2 separate regions of the Homo sapiens genome follow, and region 2 is linked to region 1. The links are contacts of gene promoters, found by promoter capture Hi-C in blood cells and fetal thymus (Javierre and others, 2016). All regions are on one chromosome and are shown on one strand. Each heading gives the region's core, a stretch centred on a gene start or on the middle of the fragment in contact. The rest is flanking DNA. Distances are from core to core; before and after follow the strand shown.

The links. Contacts are between HindIII fragments. The CHiCAGO score rates a contact against its expected background, and 5 or more counts as called.
Region 2: a fragment that was not itself captured here is called in contact with the fragment with the promoter of TAX1BP1 in region 1 in 1 of 17 cell types (fetal thymus); the score reaches 6.5 in fetal thymus.

Annotation. Positions count from the first base shown.
Region 1 is chr7:27,734,734-27,741,614 of GRCh38, reverse strand. It overlaps TAX1BP1 (Tax1 binding protein 1), which reads right to left and starts at 1,453. Exons shown (of 17, transcript NM_006024.7): 1 at 1,346-1,453. TAX1BP1-AS1 (TAX1BP1 antisense RNA 1) reads left to right here and starts at 940. Exons shown (of 2, transcript NR_187572.1): 1 at 940-1,599. RefSeq lists enhancers at 1-655, 1,170-1,439, 656-1,518 and a silencer at 770-1,002. The HindIII fragment of the contact is 7,568 bases long and covers 992-6,881 here.
Region 2 is chr7:26,865,134-26,871,364 of GRCh38, reverse strand. No RefSeq gene overlaps it. Among named protein-coding and RNA genes, the nearest start is that of SKAP2, 3.7 kb to the right of the region's middle. RefSeq lists an enhancer at 6,208-6,231. The HindIII fragment of the contact is 885 bases long and covers 4,539-5,423 here.

The DNA of each region.
Region 1 (6,881 bases), core at 204-2,703:
GCAGGAGAATCGCTTGAACCTGGGAGGCGGAGGTTGCAATGAGCCGCGATCGCGCCACTGCACTCCAGCCTGGGAGACAGAGCAAGACTCCATCTCAAGGAAAAAAAAAAAAAAAGAACGTGATGACTAGAAAACAAAAACTACAATGTTCTTTGAAGTTGAACAATCAGTTTGAAAAATAAATAAAACCTTATTAGAAGTCGGCATCATCAAACAATCCTTCAAGTTTACCCTTGAAAGGAACAGAACGAAAGAGAAAGGCTGTCCTAAGCTCCTTCCCTAAACCCGAAAAGCACTTTGAGGACGATCGACCCACTTTTAGTTTCTATTCAAATGATCTCTTTAAATCCTTTAGGAATTGAGCACCAAACTTGTAACTATTAATTGTTCGTGCACAGCTCGTAGAAATTTTAACATTAGCAGAATGCAGACAGCTGAAAAATCAAGATTTATTTTCCCATCTAAAGCCTAACATAATAGCAATTCATAACCACTGTGTGAAACCGGAAATCTAACACTGTGTATGTCTAAAGTCAAATGCCAGTGTTTTCTAACAAAACTTTTACCAATAAGGTGTGTACACACACCCACACAGACGCACGCTAAGCTCAATTTTTTACTAATAAGGTGTACGCGCGCGCGCGCACGCTAAACTCTAGCCACAGATTCCCTAAGCCAGGAGTGCAAGTCGGTCGGGACTAGTCCACACCTTGCGAACGGGGCGGGGTGGGGAATGGATTCCAGGTGAAGCAGGCCATCAGCCAGAACCGCCAACTCCGCCCGCGGCCCTCAAAAGTAGGCGGCGCAGGGAGTCTCCGCCCCCTTCGCCACCGGCGACTCAAACCAAAACAGCTGGGTTTCTCTCCGCAAAGGCAAACCCCAGCGTCCTTCTCGGACGCGACCTACGTGTTTTCTCAGCTTACTGCGCCGGTAAAACCCACACTGCCCTCAAAACAGTCACCCCAGAGTTTAGCCTTGGACACCAGAAGCTTTTCCTTCGGGGGTCGCCAGCGTCACTCGTCCCCAGCCAAAGGGCCCCCGTCCCACACGCCTCCCCCAAATCGCGAAGGCCTGTCCCACGGGCCTCCCACCGCGTGGGGCGGCCACCCGTTGCCATTCCAAAACTCCACAGCTGATCCGAGTCGCCCACACCCCCGTCACAATCGCAGTCTGGAAAGGAAGGTTTGTCTTCGGGAAGGAAAGCCTCGTCACCACAGAGACCTCTCCCGAGACCGGCCAGGCCCCTACAGTACAGGGGCTGAAGGGTGTAGCACGAGCCCTAAAAGAGATGCAGCTGGAGGCCGCCCCGCACAAGGCGCTGGGGTGGACCGGGGAGGCGCCTTACCCAGTGGAAAGACTCCCGGATCAAGGGAGAAAGTTACGCAGGCTTCCGATCCTGATCCGCCATCAGCCGCCGAACCTCTTCCGCCACTACCGCCTACCCCCAAAGACCGGCTACACCTCCCCTCCCAGCCGACAGTAGGCCTTGCGTCACTTCCGCCCACGGGGCGGTCTCTTCCGCCTCCTGCCTGGTTCGCCGCTCCCCTCCGCGACGACACGCCCCCAGCCCACTCCGCCGCGGGACGCCTCATCCCGCGGGTAGGCTGGCTCTCTCCTTACTTCGTCCTTGCTATTTTCGTTCAACTTAATCGCAGCAAAACAATGCGTCTGGATTTACATTCTGATTTTATGTTATTATTTTGACATACGAAAGGGGGAAACACACAGGAGGTTTAAGTAACTCACCAGCGATGTGGAAAGGGCAGCTCAGAGGTCCATGGACAGTACCGTATCCCTGTCTGCGTCTCAGTCGGCCTAAACTAGCCCACTCATTTTATAGATAAGGAAATAGCCAGAGAAGCAAGGGAGTGACCACACGGCTAGGGCTGCAAACCCCTGAGCACCAAGACTGTCTCTGAACTCCTGGCCCAGTCGTGTGCTTTTTTGGCTATGAAGTTTTGTTCACTGAAAGCTCCTAGGAGCTTTTCAGTTCTAATGCCCTCTGATTCTATTTGCTCTCGCTCCAGCAGAGGCCTCTTTTCTAGCCGCATTTCTGTGAGTTACCTGCTTTTGTTATCCGTATCATTTTCCGTGTGTGAATTTTCTCCCGCGTTCTGTTATTTCTAAAATCACTTTTGCTTGTTGTATATGTTGCCTTCCTATATTGGACATTCAGTTTGAATCGTAACTCCACAGAAGCAAATGTGTCCCATTCGAATTCATCATAGTCTTCTGTTGCCGTAAAACCCTGACAAACCTTGCAATAGCACCAGAAAGGATATGTAAATTAGATCGCATTAAATGTTGAAGCACATTCTAAATACAGAACATTCAAAATTATCTTTCATATACTTTCATCTTTACTTCCAGTTATTTCAGAAGACATTAGCTTTGATAACATAGGTTCTCAATATTTACAGACTGATTTGTTTCCTGTGTATTGACATTTTTGAACTTGGTCTTGTGCTGGGTATTATACTTGATCATAGAATTTCAGAAGAACCTTAATAGGCCATTTAGTCCCAGTCTCCTTATTTTATGGATGAAGAAAACGGTGTGAATAATCAACATAAGTTATCACTTGCGTTACTGGTAGCAACCTTCTGGTAGTAGAAATAACTGTGTCCCTTAAGAAATGTAAACATAGCAGTGAATTTTATAAGCACAATTTGTCAGAGATGTCACTCTTTGTTTAAATCACATTCCTATTTATATGTAATACATTTTTAATTACCACTAATTTTCAGTTAATGAAATCAGAAAAACAGTATGCTTAATAAAAACCATAATTGAAAGACTTTTTTTTTTGCCCTGAGAGGGACGGAGTTTCGCTCTTGTTGCTCAGGCTGCAGTACAGTGGCGCGATCTCGGCTCACTGCAACCTCCGCCTCCCGGGTTCAAGCAATTCTCCTGCCTCAGCCTCCCAAGTAGCTGGGATTACAGGAGCCAGCCACCACGCCTGGCTAATTTTTGTATTTTTAGTAGAGAGGAGGTTTCGCCGTGTTGGTCAGGCTGGTCTCAAAGGACATTTTCACAGGTATTTTTACTTTGTTATTTTTAATTATTTCTTGAATTTTTAGACCTTATTTTCCCCAGGAAGGTATTTGTTCTGGAATTTTAGCTTGCTTCATTCATTTTAATAATGATCCTTTAATTTTTAGACCAAGTTTTTCCCACCAAGATAAATAGATACCCTCTTAGTATTTAATTGAATTTCTGGGTTTTGGGGGAGTAGGGTTTGGGTTTTTTGTTTGTTTGTTTTTTGAGACAGAGTCTCGCTCTGTCACCTAGGGTGTAGTGCAGTGGCATGATCTCGGGTCACTGCAACCTCCACCTCCCAGATTCAAGCAATTCTCCTGCCTCAGCCTCCCCAGTGGCTAGGATTACAGGCGCACACCACCACACTGGGCTAATTTTTATATCTTTAGTAGAGACGGGGTTTCTCCATGTTGGCCAGGCTGGTCTCCAACTCCTGACCTCAGGTGATCTGCCTGCCTCAGCCTCCCAAAGTGCTGGGATTACAAGCATGAGAGACCGCACCCGGCTTTAATTGAATTTCTTAAAGTTAGCCTCTTATTTGTATGGCAGTGGACTATGGCTAGAAGAGATATGGATTCACTTCCTTTAAGTGAAATCTTTCTGCCAGATGGATTTCAGAATTCAGAATTTTTCAGACTTTAGAGAGGTGTGCTTTATGTGACATTCCTCACTATCTGGGGCAGCACCCACAGTCAACTTTTTTTTCCGGAACAATTATGAATATCACACTAAGATAAATGAAATGTATAGTCTCACTCAAGTCAAGTTTTTCAGGTCAGGTTCTGCCACTTTGCCCTTGGGTTCAGGTCAAGTTTTAATGACAAATGAGTCAGGTCAAACAGGTTTTGCCACCAAATGTTGAGAAAACATTTGATTTTCAGAGCTTTTTCTTTTTTTTTTTTTTTTTGAGACGGGGTCTCTGCCCTCTTCCCTGTCACCCAGGCTGGAGAGCAGTGGCAAGATTTCGGCTCACTGCAACCTCTGCCTCCCAGGTTCGAGTGATTCTCCTTCTGGGATTACAGGCATGAGCCACCGCACCTGGCCAATTTTCAGAGCTTTTTAGATTTCGAAGTGGTGAATATTGAGAGAATTATTGGAAAGTAAATCAGTGAGTAACCCATGATTTTTCTGGAGCAACTACAGTGTCAAGTAGTTTCTAGGCAGTTGTCCTGTGTTTGATTGGGAAAATATGCTGACTATATTTAAAAGGCACTGTTCTTTCATTAGAGGAACTTATGATAGCAAAGGGAAGAAAAGAAATGAGCCCATGAAAATGTAGGTAACTAAAGTGTAAATGAATAGGAAGACAGATATTCAGAGATGGGAGAAAGTACAGGCTTATGTTAGCAGTACACTTTTCATGGGGGAGGCAGGCCTAGACTGTCAAAGTGAGGTATGATTTCGATGAGGAGATGGAGGAGGAGGACTTTCCAGTCAGGATTTAAGAGCTTGGGCAAGGGAATCAGGCAAGAAGAAAATTGTTAACCAAAAATAATAATTTCCTCCAAAGTTCATTCATTCACCATTGTGTCATGTCGCTTCTTAATAAGAGCATTTTGTTCATTTACTATGTGCTCTGGGAAAAACAAGGAATCAAGCATGGTTTCTTCCCTGAAACTGCTTAAAATCAGGTCAAGATGTTACCGGATGGTATAGATAACTGTCAAATTTGAAGGAAATGGACTATGAGAAATAAAGTAGAAAGATATACAGAATAATTAATTTTGAAATTAGCTAGACTTTGTAAAAGAGATTGGTCTCTAAACTTCAAAAGACTGATAAGATTTGAAAAGATGAAAAAAAGGCTTACATAGTGAGAATAATATAATTTAAAAGGCACAGATGGGACAACTAGATAGCAAAACATGGATTGAAAATTTTTGAAAAAGTTCAAATAGACATGTTTTATTAGAAACATTACAGGTTTTAAAAGCCAGGCAAATGAGTTGTTCTCCTTTCTTAGAACAATGGTTTACATTAGAATTTGTATTAAAGATTCCTTTTGTTATAAATGATTCTTAATTAAAAAGAAAAAAACACCTTTGTAAACCTTTGTTTTAAAAAGAGAGCTTTTTTTTTTTTTTAGGCAGAGTCTCACTCTTTCACCCAAGCTGGAGTGCAGTGGCGCAATCTTGGCTCACTGCAACCTCTGCCTCCCGGGTTCAAGTGATTCTCCTGCCTCAGCCTCCCAAGTAGCTGGGACTACAGGTGCATGCCACCACACCCAGATAATTTTTTTGTATTTTTAGTTGAGACGAGGTTTCACTATGTTGGCCAGGATGGTCTCAATCTAAAAAGAGAGCCTTTAAAAATGAGATTTGAATAATGGTAGGCTTTGGATAGGCAGAGAAAGAGAGGATTCCAAACACTCTAAAATAGGCTGATTTTCTCTTTCCCTGTCTGTTAGATTTTATTGATGTATTCATTGCTCCTTGTTTCCCAATCATTACCTACCTAGGTGCTTGTAACACACCTTTGCTCCTTTGAGATATACACTGTTGTGTTATGCTCCGTCTTCCCTCCCTGTGGCTGTCGTCTTCTGATCTCCAAGTCACTGTTCCTCATTCAGTGAAGAGTGTCACCTAGTGCACAGTCTCCTCCATTCTAAGCCATTCATTGTCTACTTGGATGAGATTAAAATGAAAAGGCCAACATCCCAGCATTTTAATTTCCTGAATCCCTCATCTCAAATACTCCACTCCAGATACCTATTTCTGTGGTCACACCTTGGCCCTTGCCATCATCTTGAAAAGCAAGCCTCCTACTCTTTGACCACAATCTCCTATTCTTCTAACTTGTTCATTCAAATATGCCCAGCAGAACTATTTTTCAAACTCATCAGCATCTCAATCCATTTCTTTTTTTAATACTTCCCTCAGTATCCAACTTAGAGTCCATAGCTATAATTTCATTAACACGACTTCCAACACCTTAAACTCCCTTGACTTCCTATCTTGCACATTAAGGAAAATTTCCTATAACAAATGCATTACAGACTTTGTAGTCATCACATGCTTTACACTAAAGTTTACGTCTGGAAATACTAAGCAGAAACTTTGAAGTTAAAATTGAGTGTTTTGGGAAGTTTCTTGCACTATCAAAAAGAGAAACTATAATTTATGATACTAAGAAACAGAGCCTGCAGAGGTTTATATAAGACCTTTGCCCCATTGGCTCCTAACAGTGTTCTTTGTTCCTTGTGCAACTGAAAGGTCACTAGAATGTAAATATTTTCTAACCTCTCTTCCTCATCTTACTGAGAAGAGTAATAGCCAGCAAAGTACTTTGAATTTTTAAGGTACTTATGTCAACAAGATTCTTCCTTCCCAGTGTTTCTTATTAAATACCTGTATTTTGTGAGTCACTGTGTATCAATGATAATTAAAGTTAATAAAAATTATTTTAAGGAAATGTTAAGATAATCTTCAAATGTTTAATTTTAACCAAGGCTAAATCAAAGTTTTAGGCTCAAATATGTTTTTATTTCACAGATCCCAACACCTCCCACCTTCTCAGGAACTCTGCATTATCTCATTTTTATATTCAAGCCCCCTATCTCCACGAGATCTTTTCCATTGTCTTTTTAAACATATTGAAGTCTCTTCAATTTTTAAAAACTTTCCCAGCTCCCTGTTTCCTTCCAGCTCCTATTGTCTTTTGTCTTTACAAGCAACCTTCTCACTTCTAGGAAGAATTGTCTATATTATACTCCCTCATCTTCCATCTATTTCCAGCAAGTTCCAGAAGGCATATTTCTAGCAAGATGCAGAGGGCAGATTTCTAGCAAGTTCCAGATAGTGGATGTCTAGCAAGTTCCAGATGGTAGATTTCTGGCAAGTTCC
Region 2 (6,231 bases), core at 3,732-6,231, 870 kb after region 1:
CTCTGAGCCAGAGTCATCTAGCTAAGCTGCTCATGTATTCCTAACCACCAGAAACTGTGAGATACTGTTTGTTTTAAGCTACTCAATTTTGTTATTCAGCAATAGATAGCTAATATAATGCCTAAGTATAAATATAATCTTTCTTCCACATGCCTATGAAAGCCAAATAAAAATGAAGATGAGAGGCTGAGAAAAGTAAATTGTGTTTGGCTTACTTTCTATTTTTCTTCGGTGCTCTTTTAGCTTCTCTTAAACCTAGGCCTGTGGGAAAATACTTATTCAGTGCCCCTAAGCTAATTTTGAAGAACATAAGAAAGGCAGTTAGCTTCAGTTATAGGGATATATACATATATCTTTGAACTGGAGGATCTACTTTTGGGAAGACAAATCATAAGATTTTATCAGAGTCTAGTCTCTCCTTTGTAGAATGGTAGGGAGGCCATTACCTCTCTTAGGTTGAGATTTAAAGTTACATTTATTATTCTTTTTTTTCAACCTAATATGACTAGTTTAAAGAATGTAAAGTATGATTTGATTTACTTCTTGGTTTTTGTTATGGAAACAAGAGAAATAAGAATGTATTTCTCCTAACTTCTCTTTATTACACTTTCCATCTTATAATCAATTTCAATAACTTTAACAATAAACAGTAAAAATGATAGACTATACAAAGCATTGCCCAAGTGAATCTATCATGGACCTGTGTCTGAGAATGGCTTCCTAAATAGGGAAAATGTGTTTCACACAAAAAGTCCATTTTCTGTTATTGCCTTTTTTTATTTGGACTATGAGATGCTATATATTTTAAGGTAATCTTAATAGTTTCCTGTCTCTCACTAACAAGAATGACTTGTCATAATGAGCAGTGTAGACACTGTCCATTTGATCCACTCCAGAAAGCTGTCTATTTGATACAAGAGCAAATCACCTCAATTCCTTAGTGGAATGAGTGGAGTATAAGTAAATAAATGAGACACAGGAATTTAAAAACAGGTTCAGTTCTATCAGAAGGAAACAAAGGATTGGGACATTTGGAAACCTGGTTTAATAAAAAATGTGACAAGACAAAGAATTATGTGTGATAACTGTAGAAGGAGGAAGAATCCTCCCTAATATAAAATGTCCATGAAATAGTTGTTTTCTTCTTTAGGAAGGAAGATAATTTTGTAGCTTAAGAAAAATAGTTCTCAATTCTTTGAAGTTGGAAGACGTATATTGTAAAATGACTATTTATTTACTTTTACCTCCACCAAAAACAATTCAAATTTTCAGTGCTCTTTCTATAATTCATCACATTTTAAAATCTGGGTAGGAATTTCAGATTCCATTTTGGGGAATGGGTTTGTTTGCAGGGGTGTCTTTTTTTGTTGTTATTTTTGCATGTTTTACTTCAGCCGTAAAGTTTTTGTCTTTTATTTGTTTGTTTGTTTTGAGAGGCAAGATACAGACTCGAAAATGCTCTATTTTTTCTTTTATAACTAGTTTACTTTTATCTCAGAGAATTACACAAAAATGTCATACTGCATTTGACTTTCTAATTTTTTATTAGACTGTCTGAAGTGTTTTTGATGAACTATTAATAAAGTTGTTATTCTGTGTTAGGTTTAGGGTTCCAGCTGAGGATGAAAGATAAGTTACAACAAATTTTGTGCCCTGTAGGAGCTGGGAAGTAGCAAAGTGATTCTTAAAATGAAATTTCATGATGTCTTGCATTCACCTATGAGGACTTTTTTTTTTCAGTGCCAGGGTCTTGCTCTGTTGCCCCACGCTGGAGTGCAGTGGCGCAATCTCGGCTCACTGCAATCTCCACCTCCCAGGTTCTAGCAATTCTCTTGCTTCAGCCTCCCGAATAGCTGGGACTACAGGTGCATGCTACCACGCCCAGCTAAGTTTTTGTATTTTAGTAGAGATGGGGTTTCACCATGTTGTTCAGGCTGGTCTCAAACTTCTGAGCTCAGGCAATCCACCCACCTCAGCCTCCCAAAGTGCTAGGATTACAGGCATGAGCTACAGCTGAGGATTGTTTAACACGCAGATTCTCAGGCCCCACCCTAAAAAGACTGACTCAGAATCTCTGGGGATGGGATTTGAGAATTCACAATGTAATAGGTTCTCTCTGTGATTCTAATGAAAACTATAGTTTGATCTAGTGAAAGTTGGAGGGTAAAGGAATAAACAATTTACAATGTGACTGGAGCCCAGGAACAATGTAAGATATAATAGTAACTTCTAGGAAAGAGCCACTATCTCTACCAAGGGAAATCTAAGTGAAGGCTTAATATAGAAGCTGACATTTGCGTGGTTTTGAAAACGTGCCTTGCCAAGCAGAGATGGAGGGTGTGGCAGGGGGCATCTCAATGACTCATGTTGTCAATGATATTTTCACTAAGAGAAATACACAGTGTATACTCACTAAATGCTTTGCCTAGGAAGTTTCTGTCTGAAGCCTTCCTCCTCAGCCTCTATTCTGTGTTCTTCAGGGATTTCAGCGACTTCATTTTCGTTGATGGTTCCGCACCAGGTTTTGAGGGATTTTAATGGTTAAGAGGCACTTGAATGTAATAAATATGTATATACGTACATATATGTAATAAATACATGAGTGTATACACACACACACACACAAACAGGCATACCTCACAGATTTTCCAGGTTAGGTTCTAGACCAAACCAATAAAGCAACTATTGCAGTAAAGTGAGTCACACAAATACTTTGGTTTCCCAGTGCATATAAGCATTATGTTTACTGTAGTTTATTAAGTATGCAGTAGCATTATGTCTGGAAAAATAACTAACACACCTACTTAAAAATACTTTATTGCACCTGGGCATGTCGGTACATTCCGGTAGTCCCAAGCCACTCAGGAGGCTGAGGTGGGAGGATCCTTTGAGCCCAGGAGTTCCAGGCCAGTCTGGGCAAACATAGAGAGACCTCCATCTCTAAAAAACCCCCAAAACTTTATTGCTAAAAAATGATAATGATCATCTGAGTCTTCAGCATGTTATCTTTTTTCTGGTGGAGGGTCTTGCCTCAATGTGAATGGCTGCTGACTGATCAGGGTGGTGATTGCTGAAGGCTGGGATGGCTGTGGCAATTTCTTAAAATAAAACAAAAATGAAATTTGCTGCCTTGAGAGACTCTTCCTTTCATGAACGATTTCTCTGTGGCATGTGATGTTGTTTGCTAGCATTTTACCCACAGTAGAACTTCTTTCAATACTGGAGTCAATCCTCTCCAACCACTGCTTTATCAACTAAGTTGACGTAGTATTCTAAATCCTTTCTTATTATTTCATCAGTATTCACAGCATCTTCACTGGAGTAGATTTCATCTCAATAAACCACTCTCTTTGCTCATTCATAAGAAGCAACTCCTCATACCTCCAAGTTTTACCATGAGATTGCAGCAGTTCAGTCACATCTGCAGGCTCCACTTCTAACTGTAGTTCCCTTGCTATTTCCACCACATCCTCCACTGGTCTTGAACCCCTCAAAATCATCCCTGAGGGTTGGAATCAACTTCTTCCAAACTCCTGTTAATGTTGGACATTTTGACCTCTTCCCATGAATCATGAATATTCTTAATTGCATCTAGAATGGTGAACCTTTTTCAGAAGGTTTTCAATTTACTTTGCCCAGATATATTAGATAAATGACTATCTATGGCAACTATAGCCATATAATATATATATATATGTATATATATATGTATATATAGGTATATATATGTATATATATGTATATATATATGTGTGTATATATATATGTATATATATGTATATATATGTGTGTATATATATATATATATATTTTTTTTTTTTTTTAAGATAGGGTCTCATTTGTGGCCCAAGCTGGAGTTCACTGGCACAGTCATACCTCCCTGTAATCTTGAACTCCTGGGCCCAAGGGATCCTTACATCTCACCTTCATGAGTAGCTAGGACTACAGGCACACACCACCACACCTGGCTAATTATTCTTTTTTTTTTTTTTTTTTTTTTTTTTTTTGTAGAGATGGGGTGCCACTATGTTGCCCAGGCTGGTCTTGAACTCTTGGCCTCAAGTGATCCTCCTGCCTCAGCCTCCCAAAGTGCTGGGATTACAGGTGTAACCCACCATGGCCAGCCATGAAATGTATTTTTTAAATAAGACTTGAAAGTTGAAACTACTCTTTGATCCATGGGCAGCAGAATGGATGTGGTACTAGCAGGCATGAAAACATTAATCTTCTTGTATATCTCCATCAGAGCTCTTGGGTGACCAGGTGCATTGTCAATAAGCAGCAATATTTTGAAAGGCATCTTTTTTTCTGAGCAGTAGATCTCAACAGTGTGCTTAAAATACTCAGTAAATCATTCTGTAAACAGATGTGCTGTCATCCAGGCTTTGTTGTTCCACTTATAGAGCACAGGCAGAGTAGATTTATCATAATCCTTAAGGGCCCTAGGATTTTCAGAATGGTAAATGAGCATTGGCTTCAACTTAAAGTCAGCAGCTGAAATAGTTCCTAAGAAGAGAATCAGCCTGTCCTTTGAAGCTTTGAAGCCAGGCATTGACTTCTACTCTATAGCTACGAAAGTCCTAGATGGCATTGTTTTCCAATAAGTGTTGTTTCATCTACACTGAAACTCTTTGTTTAGTATAGCCACCTTCATCAGATATCTTAGCTAGATTTTTTTTTTTTTTTTTTTTTTTTTGAGATGGAGTCTCGCTCTGTCGCCCAGGCTGGAGTATAGTGGCGCAATCTTGGCTCACTGCAAACTCTGCCTCCTGGGTTCACGCCATTCTCCTGCCTCAGCCTCCCGAGTAGCTGGGACTACAGGCGCCTGCCACCACACCCGGCTAATTTTCTTTTTTTTTTGTATCTTTTTTTTAGTAGAGACGGGGTTTCACTGTGTTAGCCAGGATGGTCCCGATCTCCTGACCTCATGATCCGCCCGCCTCATCCTCCCAAAGTGCTAGGATTACAGGCATGAGCCACTGCACCTGGCCTTAGCTAGATCTTTTTGATAACTTGCTGCAGCTGCTTCACCAGCATTTGCTGCTTCACCTTACAATTTTATGCTCTGAAGATGGCTTATTTCCTTAAACATCATGAACCAACCTCTGCTAACTTCCAACTTTTCTTCTGCAGCTTCTTTACCTCTCAGCCTTCGTAGACTTGAAGAGAGTTAGGGCCTTGCACTCGATTAGGCGTTGGCTTAAGGGAATGTTATGTCTGGTTTGATCTTCTATCCAGAACATGAAAACGTTTCTTTACCAGCAATAAGCCTCCTTCGCTTTCTTATCATTCGTGTGTTCACTGGAGTAGCATTTTTACTTTCCTTCAAGGACTTTTCCCTTGCATTCACTACCTGGCTGTTTGGTGCAAGAGCCCTAGCTTTTGGTCTGTCTCGGCTTTCAATATGCCTTCCTCACTAAGCTTAATCATTTCTAGCTTTTGATTTAAAGTAAGCTTTTGATTTAAAGTAAAATGATTCTTTTACTGGAACACTCAGAGGCCATCGTAGGGTTATTAATTGGCTTAATGTCAATATTGTTGTGTCTCAAGGAATGGGGAGGCCCAAGAGAGGGAGAGATATGGAGGAAGGTATAGGGTTGGTAGAGCAGTCAGAACACACACATTTATGGATTACAGTCGCTGTCTTATATGGGTGCTGTTTGTGATGTCCCAAAGTAATTATAATAGTAACTTCAAAGATCACCATAACATATACAATAATAATGAAAAAGTTTGAAATATTGTTAGAATCACCAAAATGTGACAGAGACATGAACTGAGCACATGCTTTTGGAAAAATGGCGCCCACAGATTTGCTTGATGCAGGGTTGCCACAAACCTTCAATTTGTTAAAAAATGCAATATCTGGGAAGCACAAAGATGTATGCCTGTTAAAGGTTTTAAAGAAGCCATTTTTTTTAAAAGAGAAAACTTTTAAGAAGCTTTACAGATAGAAGACAGTAAGTATTTGTTGACTAAATGGTCAAGTTGGAGTGAGCAGATTTTATAATTTTATTCTACTAACCACCACCAGCAATTTTATTTTTGATGCTTGTAGATGGACAGTGGTGCCAATGTCTATTCGGCCTTCTGTTTTTTTGTTTTGTTTTGTTTGTTTTTTCCTGCCAAAGGACGGTGCTTAGAACTTCCCAGTCTTCCTTGTAGTGGGGAAAATCTGTCACCCCAAGGATACGAATTAGGTAGAAAAGTAATGTAAGAGCCAATCACAAC